3 separate regions of the Homo sapiens genome follow, and all the other regions are linked to region 1. The links are contacts of gene promoters, found by promoter capture Hi-C in blood cells and fetal thymus (Javierre and others, 2016). All regions are on one chromosome and are shown on one strand. Each heading gives the region's core, a stretch centred on a gene start or on the middle of the fragment in contact. The rest is flanking DNA. Distances are from core to core; before and after follow the strand shown.

What was found. Contacts are between HindIII fragments. The CHiCAGO score rates a contact against its expected background, and 5 or more counts as called.
Region 2: a contact is called between a fragment that was not itself captured here and the fragment with the promoter of NKD1-AS1 in region 1, in 3 of 17 cell types (neutrophils, non-activated CD4 T cells and activated CD4 T cells). The highest score is 6.2, in neutrophils.
Region 3: a contact is called between a fragment that was not itself captured here and the fragment with the promoter of NKD1-AS1 in region 1, in 3 of 17 cell types (naive CD4 T cells, total CD8 T cells and non-activated CD4 T cells). The highest score is 5.8, in naive CD4 T cells.

Annotation. Positions count from the first base shown.
Region 1 is chr16:50,611,246-50,615,624 of GRCh38, reverse strand. NKD1-AS1 (NKD1 antisense RNA 1) reads left to right here and starts at 1,975. Exons shown (of 3, transcript XR_007065197.1): 1 at 1,975-2,034. The region is part of intron 4 of NKD1 (NKD inhibitor of Wnt signaling pathway 1); the gene reads right to left. The HindIII fragment of the contact is 2,641 bases long and covers 969-3,609 here.
Region 2 is chr16:50,796,045-50,800,423 of GRCh38, reverse strand. CYLD (CYLD lysine 63 deubiquitinase) reads right to left here. Exons shown (of 19, transcript NM_001378743.1): 19 at 1-4,100. The coding sequence ends at 3,916. The region is part of intron 2 of CYLD-AS2 (CYLD antisense RNA 2); the gene reads left to right. Among named protein-coding and RNA genes, the nearest start is that of CYLD-AS2, 5.1 kb to the left of the region's middle. The HindIII fragment of the contact is 3,258 bases long and covers 403-3,660 here.
Region 3 is chr16:50,479,346-50,483,724 of GRCh38, reverse strand. No RefSeq gene overlaps it. Among named protein-coding and RNA genes, the nearest start is that of NKD1, 67 kb to the left of the region's middle. RefSeq lists an enhancer at 4,229-4,379. The HindIII fragment of the contact is 1,822 bases long and covers 1,659-3,480 here.

The sequences.
Region 1 (4,379 bases), core at 726-3,225:
ACCTCTCAGTCCCGTCTCTCTGTGGAACTGCTTTCCCTTTTCTGAGCCTGCCATGCTCTCACGCTGTTATCCCTGCCAAGAACACTCTTTCCAGCTCTGCAATTCCCACTCATCCTTCAGGTCTTCAGTTTAAGCCTCCCTTCCTCTGAGCAGCATGCTGTCACACCCTCAGGGCTAGGTTAGGCTTCCCTGCTCAGTGAGCCTTATTACACCATCATTATATCACTCATTTAATCATCAGAATCTTCCATCAGCCCAATATCTATACCCTGAGATATATATGTCTATAGTGCAGTGTCTATCACACTATAGGTGCTGCATCATCAGCAGCATCATCAAAATGAAACAACGGTAAGTAGCAGAACCAGGATTTGAACCCAGAAGTTGTGGAACAAAGAGAACTAAATCCCAGTTTCCCAACTCCTCAACCACTGGCCTGTCCACTCTCTCAGACCACAATAGCTGACACCTGTTCCTGCCTGTCCAGCAATCCTTCTCCTCCTTCTGATGATAGCATCTGGCTTTCCTCCCCAGAGCTACTCATCCCCCACTCTCAGTCTATCTAGTTTATGGAGACTGATCCCACTCCAGGGTCACACTGCACTCAGTACCCCTACCTGACCCAGCTTGTTTCATCCTGAAGGCCACGTGGCTGGTCCTAGGTCAGTATGAAAGAAGAGTTTATGAAGAAGCTAATGAAGCTAGGCTTCTGGGCCCTCTCACCTACACGGGCCCTTTCCAAGTCAGGATGGGTCTTTGCAAGGTGTTTATGTGGTCATATGTGTTTGTATTTGTAACATTTTCCAAATTAGGCATTTTATCCTCAATCTATTAAGATTGTCATCTAACCATTCTGACATCCTTTGCCTGTGTGAGGTGATACTAGGGGAAATACAGGCATTTCTGGACATGAGCTAAGGAGAGACTGAGTTGGTGAGATATTTATTTTGGTTTGGCCCCAGAAAGCTTCAGGTCCCATAAAACCTAGATCTACCCTGGTCAAGTGACCAGTAAAGTGGTCAATAAAGTGAGTCCAACATGTGCAAGAACCCCTGTGACCTGGGAACTTTCTTCCACCTGACAGGGCTGTGCTCATAGGATGGGAGTGCCCAGAGCTGGGAACTGCCACCCTTGCCCCCTGTGGGGGAGAAGCCACCAGGGGACAGAGGGAGAGATGATGGAGAGGGAGAGAGAGGGGCAGCGAGCGAGACATGTGTGTGAATGTGTGAGTATACGTGTGTGTGTGAGTGTGTGTGTGTGCGTGCATGTGTCCATGACATGGTTTTAGCTCCAGAATCCAAACAGGCCTTTTTAGGCAAGATCTACCCTAGGATTTTTCAATTTCATGAGCCAAAAGTTTAAGTGAGTTTCCAAAAGAACCGAAAGAATCCTGACTTAACAAATCCGTCTCTCTGAGATCCTGCTTTTTAGGAAAAACCACCAGCACCAGCACCACAGCAGTAATTCACTCACCCAGGGCAGTCCCTCTAGGGTGATTTCCAGCTTTTTCACCTGTGGGTGTCTGCCCCTTCCTGAGACCAGAAATGCCACCAGGGACTTCTTCTCCACCATCCTGCCTCCCAGCTGCATTTTACTGCCACTAGATTTTGCTTATGGACCAATTGTAACTGAGGGGAAACAAAAAAGGGGGAAAAGCGGGTAGGGGAGGAAATCCTTCTCAACAAATAACATTCTGGCCTTTTTTTCCTCATCAGAGCATAAGGCTGGTGGCCACTCGGCTTTGACATCTGAACAGGATTGAGACGAAACATCTGTTCAGGGAGGGAGGGGGAAGCCCCGGGAGAGAAGGGGAAAGGGGAGAAAAAGCCTTCTGTGGGCTAAAAATATCACGTCCCTTCCACTCTCCCCCGCCCGCCCCCACCCAAGTTAAAACATGTGATGAAATTCGGCTTTTACAATCTAACCCCGAGCTACTTGAAACTATTAAAGCCTCTCCGGTATCTGACACAAGTCAGAATTTCCACTGTTCCAGCTGAGCTTTTATGAGGAGCAGACTTGAGAGAAACTGCCAAGGTAACAAAGTCCGCTTGTTCTCTGTCACCGCTGCAACTCAGCTTCTGGGGGGACTGTAGGGGAGTGGAGAGTCAGGGCCGCTGACACCCCCCGACAGGACAGGCTCTGAACTGAGGGAGAGGAGCCGGCGGGGCATGGGCACCTGCCCCTCCATCTGGGGGTCCCTGCTGCCTTCCCATGAACTCCTCTTCCTCCCAGCCTTCCTGGGAAGCCACCGCCAGCCCTGTGTATTGAGGAGCCTTGCCCGAGAGTCCCGGGCAATGTCCGTGGCTACTTCCTGAGAAGTCTTGACTCGCTCTCTCTCTCTGTTTCTTGCCCAACTGCTCCTTGAACCCCAAGCTCCAATCACCAGGTATCCCACGGCCTCCTCGGTACCTCTCCTTGGATGTTAAATGGGCATCTTGAACCCAACTGGTCCAAAAACGGGAGGCTTGATGGTCACCCGCCAAAACCTCCACCTCAGAAGTGACACCGCCAAATCCTTAGTTCCTGAAACCAAAAGTCTAAGATGCATCCCTGATCTCTCTCGTTCCCTCAACCCCCTTCTCACCAGCTCCAACCTCCAGCCCCATGGACCTCTCCCCAGCCCCAAGCTCCCAGGCTAGGCCAGCACCATCTCCTCTCGCCTGCGACCCTGCAGTCACCTCCTGGTTTCATTGCCCTCTTCCTCCCTGCCCATGGGCAGTCCCTCCCAGAAGCCAGAATTAACTTCTTAAAACAGAGGTCAGAATCCAGCAGTCACCCACCCAACCATCTGGGCAGAACCACGCAACCTAAGGGCGTGGTCCCACACTTGCCGACCACCCCACTCTCATTCCTGATGCCACATCGGCCTCCTTTTTGTTCTTCCCCAAACACCAAGTTCCCTCCACTCTGGGGTTCTGCTCACTCATAGCTGCTCTCCCCCTACATTCTTCCATGGCTGGCTCCTTCCTGGCATCTGCATCTCAGCTGAAACATCACCTTCTCAGAAAAGCCTCCTCACTCTACCTCTCCCTGGGTTTTACGTCTTAGCAGAGAACCACTACTAGAAACTTCCATGCTCCTTCGCAGATTTATGTATTCATCCCTGCCTCCCTCCTGTGAATGTCGTGACTGCTGGGCCTGCCTACCTTGCTCGTGCCTGTGAACCCAGGGCCCAGCAGAGCCCCTAGCTGCAGCAAATGCCCAGCACATACTGAATGGTGAGGAGTGAGGGGCCAGATTCTGTTCTCAGTCTGCTGTGTGACCCTGGACAGGTCACTTCCCTCTCTGGGCTTCAGTTTTCCAACTACAGATGAAAGGAAGTACAGGCCTCCCAAGTTCCTTTGCCCAACATCTGACCCCTGGGAGCCTGGACAGACTGGCCCAGGCCCCAACACAGGTACACAGGTCCTGCCTGAGAGGCCGGAGGGAGGGGTCACCTGCTTTCAGTGAGGCAGAGGGAGAGGTCACCTGCTTTCAGTGACTACAGGGTATTGACTTTCCTTCTTCAGTGAGTGTTTATTTATTGAGCACATACAGCATGCCAGACCCTACTCCAGGCACCAGGAGTACGGGGAGGCCTTTGGAGATTCTAACAGGATTAAAGAAGCTTTGCAAAGAGGTCCTCTTTGATCTGGGCTAGGTAAATGATTATAAACACGGGCTGACACCTCTTCAAGAAAACTGAACCCAGGAAACAAGAATCATGGCAGCTCAAGTGTGCTGGGCACTTACTCTGTACCAGGGCCACCCTTGCGACCTACATCCATCACCTCATTGTCTTCACAATAACCCTGGCAAAGAAGTGCTACAAGGAACCCAGTGAGGAAGTTGAGCCACAGGGAAGTGACTCACCCAAGGTCACACAGTGAGTGTGGGTAAGCCAGGCTGGAATGGGGTCTGAGCTGCGAATTCACAGGAAGTCAGAATCAAGGGAGGAGAGATGAGGAAGGCAAAGTTAGGGACCATTGCAGAGCTGAACAGGCCCCGAGCTCCCCGAGTGCTGCTCAGCCCCCACCAGGCCTCAGTCTTAACACTGCTCCCTGCTGGGCAGAACCACCAACTCCAGGCACATCCACCCTTGGGCTGAGGAAGCAGAGACCACCCCACGGGCTGCCACATGCGCACGCCAGGCCAGTGGGGAGAGGGCAGCAGGGCCAAAGCAAGGCCTGCCCTGGAAGCTGGGAGGCCTGGGCCTGGTCCCGAGGAGGAGGGGCTGCCTGACTTCAGTGGCTCTGAGCATCTCCTTTAGGGAAGCTGCAGAGCAGCCTTCCTAAAGATGCCGGAGAGTGGAGAAATAGAAACCAGGCACTTGAGGATGCGGAGAGACAACGAGCAAAGGCCCAGAGATGAGACACAGAGATAGCCAAGAAGCTGGGCGG
Region 2 (4,379 bases), core at 782-3,281, 180 kb before region 1:
AGTATGATAAACATCCAAGTACCCACATTTACGTAGAATAATACAGTAACGTTACATGACCACAAAATCACAAAAAGTGAAGGAAGCTTTGAGATCTTCCAGTTAGCAGATTTCACACCTGGCTGGTCACGAGATTCCCCTGGGGATTCCCTCACAGATTTCCTAGGCCTCTTCCTGAACAGTCGGATTCAGCAGGCATGGCCTAGGACCCAGGAATTTGTATTTTTTTCCCATACAATTCAGTAGTCTAACCCTCTCATTATGCAGAGGAGGAAACTAAAGCTCAAGAGGTCAAGCTGTTGTCTAAGTGTACAGAGCAAGTGACAGAAACAGGGCTAGAATGCAGGTCTCTCGTCCCTACTCTGCCACTTTTTCTGTCACAGCACACCACCTCCCAAAGCTTCCCCTAGACCTGTCACCCTTACCCTTCAGCTAAGTAGCCTTTAATAGATATTCTGTCGTTAAAACTAGGTAGGGCAGGGACACATTTCATATTCCCTCTGATACAATCCTAGGCACCTAGTAAGTGTCCGATAAATACTTCTTGGTTGGCAGTTACTCAGCAAAAGTCTAATACTTTATCCTCCACTCACATCTCAGTCTACAATCATCCAAGCAGATGCAAAATTATCTGGCCAGATAATTTTCAAGATCCAGCTATAGAGGGTAGTGAATCCTGAATCTATGAAGATGCCATGTTCAAACAAGCAGGAATTTGGGTGACAACACAGTTCTATAAGATTAATGGAATCTTAATCTTCCATACTATCTCTCCCCCTTGTTCTCAAAATCTGTGAAAAAAAATAATAAAGGAATCCTAGGGATAGGAAGAATCTGGCCATTTATCTACAGCATTTGGCAAACAGAAATTTTTAAAAATCCTAAATTATTCTAAGGAGAAAATCCTTAGCAACAGTAACAACATATTTAGTTGATTTTTGTTGCTGTTTATCCTAGTTTTCAACGTGTTTTCCTAGTCTTATAAAACATTCTTCTGTGGATGGAGTCAAACTCCTTTATAAAGCTGACAGTGAGGGATGGGACACATTTAGCCTCTCTATGTATGATAACACTGCTCTCCTTCCCCACTCTCTCCCTCTCCGCCACATACATATATACACACACACAGACACACACATATTTATTTGGAGGTGAGGAACATGACATATTTTCTACTTGTAATCATGAATCATGAATCACGAACCGTGTTATAAATAAGATAATTCAATTACATTGTCATCTTGATTGTAGATAAGGAATAAAAGATAACCAAAACCTTTAAATAGCCAACAGGAAAATATTAAAGAAAACTTAAGGCTGAAAATTAAATAACCAGCAGGCACATAAGCCCCTGTGCCATGCAGCCCAGCCCCAACTATGTGCCTCTTGACAAACCAGGCTGTGCTGAAGCACAGAACAGTAGGGGGCTACCCAGAGGGAGCCAGGACAGACAGGTGCAGGGGAAACCTTCCTGCTGCCTCATGACATGCAGAAGCAGGGAAGGACGCAGCCTCCCCAGGAACCACCAGAGCTGGCCCTGGCATCCCTTAATGAGCACTCCCTCCCCAAGTAACATTAAAAAGACGTCAAGCTCCACCTGAAGAAGACGTTGCCAGAAATCATTTATGGATGAGGCCCTCCCATTTAACAGTCTCCACACCTGACTTTTGAAACCAGGTGTCCATCCAAACAGGTCTTCTTCAAGTTCTCTACCATGACAGCCTGGGTAGCAGAGCTTCCTCAATTTGTATTTTGTTTTAATTTCTACAGGAAAGGAACTGTCTTCTCTCTCCTTTTTTTTTTTTTTTTCCAACTGTTAAATCCAGTCTTACCTAGATCGTCAGCCCTTAGTATCTGCAGGGGTTTGGTTCCAGGATCCCTGCAGATACCAACATCTGAAGATGCTCAATTCCCTGATACAAAATGGTACAGAATTTGCATATAACTGACACACATCCTCCTGTATATTTTAATTAAATAATCTCTAGATTACTTATAATACCTAATAAATGTAAATGCTACATAAAGAGTTCTTGTATTGTTCAGAGAATAATGACAAGAAAAAAGTCTGTACATGTTCAATACGGATGTAACCATCCTTTTTTTAAAAAAAATCGTATTTTCCATTTGCAGTTGGTTGAATCCATGGATGAGAAACCTGCAGATACCGAGGGCTGGCTTCATTTAGATTCCTAATCATTCCTCCAGGTAGTCAATTTTTTAAAATCACATTGACAAGCTCATTCACCCATTTCTTCATTCAACACATATTTATTACAGGGTGATTGGACTTCTAGGCTGTCAGAGCTAGAAAAGGCCTTATGCATCTTTTACCCCACACCCTTCATTTTACCCAAGGGAGATGGAGGCAGGGCTAGCCCTAAACCCAGAGTCTCTCAGCCTCACCCCTGATCTAATCATCATCTCACCACCCCAACCAAGCACTTAGCAGTATAAAACCTTGTGCAAAATATATGTACTTTTTCACTTCAAAAATGAAAATATTACAAGATGAGTTTTTGTACCTTACTGTAATTTATAAAGCTAGTAAATATTAGCAAAATGGAATGATAAAACCAAAGAGTAAAAGTGCCTTTAAAAAAGTAATTGCAGGGTTTGTAAAGATTCTTTCCACTTTTTGTCACATTAAATATTTTATAAAGTCATATGACATATACATATGATGACTTTTCTGCCTTTCTGCACAGTTAGAAAGTCATTCAGGAAAGACAATGATACCACAAAACAACACTCAGAGAATGCACATTCCACAGCACTGACATGTATCATCTATGGTCCTGGTCTACAACATCCGCTGTGGTCTAAACACACACTATGGCTGTTATTAAACAAAACATCCCATTTCTACTTACTTTAATCAGAAGGAGGATGAAGCTGCTGCTAACATTTCGATAACATATCTGATTCTATCAAGTGAAACTACACTGAATTTAATGGGAGTACTGGCTGACAGATCAAACTTAAGTTCTAGACAGTCTTGTCTAAAATAATAGAGGTTTAAATATCCATCTCTCCCAGGAAATTGTAATAATTCTATATGCCAAATTCATTTTCTTATGGACTGTATGTTTGTAAAGGACTATTATCACTCCAATTCTTTCATCAATTTACTTTGCCCCATTCCATAAAATATTAATAGTTAAAAGCCTTAAAAAACCTGTTAGCTGACAGTAACTACTATGAATGAAGAGCTTCAACTGCTAAATACCCTAATCCTCCAGGAAAATCACTTCAAAAATGGACATTTGGGGACAGAATCACTCATTTATCTCAAAACCAGAACAAATAGAAAACAACACCATTAAGGGAATTTAAGTATTTTTCTGACCACTATTGCAGAAACACAGAAAAACTGAGCAGATTGTAGACATGCAAGATCAGCAGTATATAGAAAGGATTAACAAATCAAACTCAGTACATCTCTAATAACTGGATTGAGAGTAGACTCTTAATAAAACCAAATTATTTCTTCCTCAAGGCAACCGTTAGCTACAAAAGAAAAATGATTTCATATCCTTGGTCCATAAAGAAGACACATTTATTTACATTCTCAATGGACTAAAAGAGGCTTTAAACTTCCACAATTAAAATTGTATGCTTCCAAAAATATCATATGATCAATGCACTTAACTTAAAGCTTCAGGTATTAATAACTTCATTTAGACTTCTTAAAAAACCAACACAAACATACTTTCTAGAGTGCAAAATGCTTCTTATTAAATACTTCAGGGACACAAAAGCAATTTGTTTTTAAACAGAGGCATCCTTTTCTGAAGGATCATCACCACAAAGACATCCATTGCCGGCAATGGACGTGAACAGAACTGCCAGCTCGAATAAGATGCAACGTTAGGACTCTGCCTTCAGTTTCTTTGCCTTTCCCGATGACCCCAGTTATTTGTACAAACTCATTGTTGGACTCTGGTACATGCACATATATGCATCACAAAGCAGTCTTCGTGCACAGCCTTGGATTCTCCTGGAGTCCAAGGAATGCAGGTCTTCCAGAGACATCTTCAAGTACTCTCCTACTTCTGGGCATGGGGTGACTTGAGGAATGTTGAAGCCATTCTGACCACCTATGGCACAGAGGAAGAACTCTTTATAGGGCAGTCAAGTTCTAAACCCTTTTGCCAGTGATTTTATAATCCTATCATTTCCAAAAAGCTAATTTCAGGCTCTAAAAGCCTTTATTTTACTTCTGATTTCTGGAAGTGAAAGCCTCCTTTAACCCTTGACATATTCTCATTTCTTGGTTTCTGAAAGGATTCTGGGGCCAACAGTGAATAAACCTGGTAAAAGGACACGAATTCTGAGGTAAGCCCCCAACCTACTTTCCAGACTTCTCTCTGAATCAT
Region 3 (4,379 bases), core at 1,320-3,819, 130 kb after region 1:
GTTGAGACCTTGCTTCTGGCCCCTAAAACCATAAGAGAATAAATTTCTGTTGTTGAAAGTCACCAACTTAGTGGTAATTTGTTGCGGCCGCCCCCAGAAAACTACTACAAATACTGAGACATTTGCCATTTTCATCTCATCCTCTCCTGAGTGTACAGTGGAGTTTTTCAGAGGCTACACGACATGTGGTATTAGAACAAATTGAATGCAGAAGCAGATATGAGAATCCAGCTGTTTTCTATTAAGCCAGACATTAGGAGATTTGCTAAAATGAAAAACAATGCCACTCTTCAAACAAAAGTTTTTTGTTTTGGAAAATCTGAGGGTTTTTTTCATTTTTTAAAAATGTTATTTATGTTAATATAAGATGGGCTTTTGAAAAATTATTAAATATATGTATTTTCAAATTCTCTATTTAATTTTTTCATATAGTAAATATTGATAAGCATAACCCACGTGAGCAAAGATTCTTTGGGGTCCTTAAAAAATGTAAGAGCATAGAGTGGTTATAAGATAAAAACACTTGAGAACTGCTAAACTAGATCATGTCTCTCACATCCCACCTTGACTCTCTGGTTTTACCCTGAAAAATAAGCCAAGATAGGCTGCATTTGACAGCAATTGACAGAAAACCCAAATCAAAGTGGCTTAAATGAGAGAAACATATCATCTCACAAAACAAGCCCAAGGGCTGGGCCTCCTGGGTTTGGTTAATTCACTGGGTCAAGTGTACTGTCACTTCCAACCACTGTGTTTCTGCTTCCTGCTACTCTGCTACCCTTTGAGAGCTCGTCCTCCTCATGGTTACAGGATGGCTGCAGCCGTGCCAAGCATCACGTCCTCACACAACAAAAGCCAAAGCTGGAAAAAGAAGCATCCATCCTTGAGCTTCATTTTAGAAGCCAAGAAGTCCCCCTCTTCTGCCTTCTCTTCTCATTGTCTAGAATTGTATCACAGGCCCATTTCTGTTCAAGAGAATGGCACTATGTGGGGTTGGCTTGTTCTGGTCTAAATTGACCTCCATGACAGGGAGAAGATCAGTCTCCTCTGAAGACGTGGCCATGGGATTGGGGTCTTATGAGCAAGGAAAGGGGGTCAGGCTGTAGGGAGATGATCACAGTGCCTGCCATTGCCACTGGGGACTTCAAGTCTGTGGAATCAGCAGCCATATCCCAAGGTGCCCTGGCTGTCCACCCATCAGCAATTTAGCCACAGCCCAGCGTGAGTCTGGCAGAACCTCTGCCTCTACTCTTCAGAGCTACCTTGGCTCCATGAGCTCCAGACCCACGGCCCTTAACACCTGTCATGGCCAATCCTCCACTCTCTTGGTGCAAGGGCCAGTCCCCACCGCTGGTCCTGCCTCCTTCTGCCTGGTACAATGTTATATCAGATGCTCTGTGTACCTTCCGTGCCCCCAGTTTTGCTTGGAGGTCACCCCTATCCACTTGAAAGCTTTCAGTCCTCTCAGGAAACACCTAAGTTGTTTTGCAAAATGTCCCATGTTGCTCATATCAACCTTCAAGCTCCACATAGTCTCTCTCTCAAAAAAAAAAAAAAAAAAAAAACATCTAAAGTCCTCAGCCAGGCCCAGTGGCTCATGCCTGTAATGCTAGCACTTTGTGAGGCCAAGGCAGGAGGATCACTTGAGCTCAGAAGCTTGAGACCAGCCTGGGCAACATGGCAAAACCCCATCTCTACAAAAAAAATACAAAAATTAATGAGGCGTGGTGGAATGTGCCTGTAGTTCCAGCTACTTGGGGGACTGACGTGGGAGGATCGCTTGAGCCCAGGAAGTGGAGACAGCAATAAGCTGTCATTGTGCCACTGCACTCCAGCCTGGGCAACAAAGGGAGACCCTGTCTCAAAAAAGAAAAAAAAAAAACTAAAGTTCTCACCAGGCTCCCTATTCTCTCTCTCTCTCTGTCACGCGCGCACACACACACACACACACACACACACACACACACGCACACACTACGGGTGAGGTGACTCAGGTTCTGGAATCTTTGCTTTGCCACCTATTTGCTGTGCAACCTTGGACATCTAACTTACCCACTCTGAGCCCATGTTTCTTTATTTCTAAGAAGAGGGTAATGATACCTATGTTCTAGAATTGCTGAGGATTAAATGAGACCATGCATGTAAAGTCACTCACTGTCAAGACTCAGAAGTTGTCAGTTGTCACAATATTGTTGCATCTCAAAATCTTTACAGGGCTGCAAATCTTGTACAGAGTACCTGGACCTCTGTTGTATCACCTGATATTCACAGCACCCCGGGAAGTCAGCTGAGCAAGGGTTATGCCCATGTTTCAGATGAGGCCATTGAGGTCCAAAGAGGCCAAGTGATTCAGCCAAGCTCACACAGGTGACTCAAAGCCAATTCTAGTACTCAGATCTCAGACTCCAAGCTCAGGGCCCCTCCGGGGTATACTTGCCTCCCTGACACTCTGTGTGACCTTGATAGCTCAGCTCTCAAATGCGTGGAAAGTTTTGTAGGAATCAGGTCTGGGACCATTGGACATCACATGGCCAGGTAGCAAGGGTGACAGCAGATACCCAGGAGAGGTTATGAGTGAAGCCTCTCACAGTTCAAAGCCCATGATGGAGAGCAGCTTCTTAAAAGACCCAAGTAAGGAGAGACCCTCCAGGGGTGAAAATCCAGCATATAAAAATAAAAGAGATAGGGCAGGCATGGTGGCTCACACCTGTAATCCCAGCACTTGGGGAGGCCAACATGGGCGAATCACCCAAGGTCAGGAGTTTGAGACAAGCCTGGCCAACATGGTGAAACCCCATCTCTACTAAAAAATACAAAAATTAGCTGGGCGTGGTGGCAGGTGCCTGTAATCCCAGCTACTTGGGAGGCTAAGGCAGGAGAATCGCTTGAACCCAGGAGGTAGAGGCTGCAGTGAGCCAAGATCACGCCACGCCACTGCACTCCAGCCTGGTGACAGAGAGAGATTCCATCTCAAAAAAAAAAAAAAAAAAGAAAAGAAAAGAAAAGAAAAGAAATAAATAAGAAATAAATAAAAAAGACACGTTTGGCTTCACAAACGTGTTCATCTTCTGAAAGACAAACATACTATAAGCAAAGGTGATAGACAAACAATACATTTGGGGAAAAATATTTGTGATGCAGTGGACGAAAGGTTACCATCTATAATATACAAAGAGCTCTTACAAATTGAAAAGAAAAGGGCAAGCAACCCAAAAGAAATTGTGGCAAAGGACATGAATAGGCAATTCACCAAAGAATGAAGCCAAATGACCACGGACAAATGAAAAGATGCTCACACTCATTAGTGGTCAGAGAAATGCAAATGAAACTGACAATGAGATATCACAGAGGAAACTTGAAAAGAACAATAACACAAGGGCTGGCAGAGATTTAGGAAAAAGCTACCCTCATGCGTTGTTGCTGAAAATGCAAATTGTTACAGACTTTTTGAGAAGGAATCTGGCAACTTCAATTAAAGCTTGAGGAGTTACATGAAAAATTTCACTTTTAAAATACAAATTTTGCATTTAAAATATTCCCTTTAACCCAACAGTTCTAACCCTGGAAATATGATAGAAATGAAACCACCATGTCCTGAGGACAAGTAAAGAAAGGTGTTTATTGAATCAATTTTCATAATGACAAGAAAAGCAACCTTGAAACAAAGTATGGCAGAGATGGGCCACACAGGGAACACCTTATTTCCCAGCCTCCCTGGCAGTTTGGCTGAAACCATGTGACTGGGTTCTGGCTAGGGACTGGGGCGAAGAAGTGACGTGTGGCCATGAAGCCCACGGCCTCATGCTCCTTCTCTCTCTTCCCCTTCTGTGGCAACTGCCGAGACCCCAAGATGGAGATGGAAGGAGCTCGATCCCTGAGATGAAAGCTCTGAGGAGACCACCCAAGGGCTGCCCAAATATACTGCATTACAATAGGAGCAAGAAATCAACACCCTTGTTTTGTTAAGATGCTACAATTTCAGAGTTTCCTGGTGGCCACAGCATAGCCTTGGTTCATGTTAATTAATGTGCAGGCTAAGTGTCCTTCAGTAAGAAATGACTAAATGAATGATGGCACAGCACACTCAAGAATATTACACAGACAGCACGAAGAATGAATTAGACCTGGACCACGGGGTTGCCAAATGTAGGAGAAGAAAAGCACAATGCAGAAGATCGTATATAATGTTTCATCCGGGCATTCTAAACAATGATCAGAAAGACTTTCTGGGCATGGGGGCTCCCATCTGAGATTCCAGCACTTTGGGAGGCTGAGGTGAGAGGATGGCTTGAGGCTAGGAGGTCGAGACCAGCCTGGCCAACATAATGAGACCCCGACTCTACAAAAATTTAAAAATTAGCCTGGCATAGTGGCGTGCA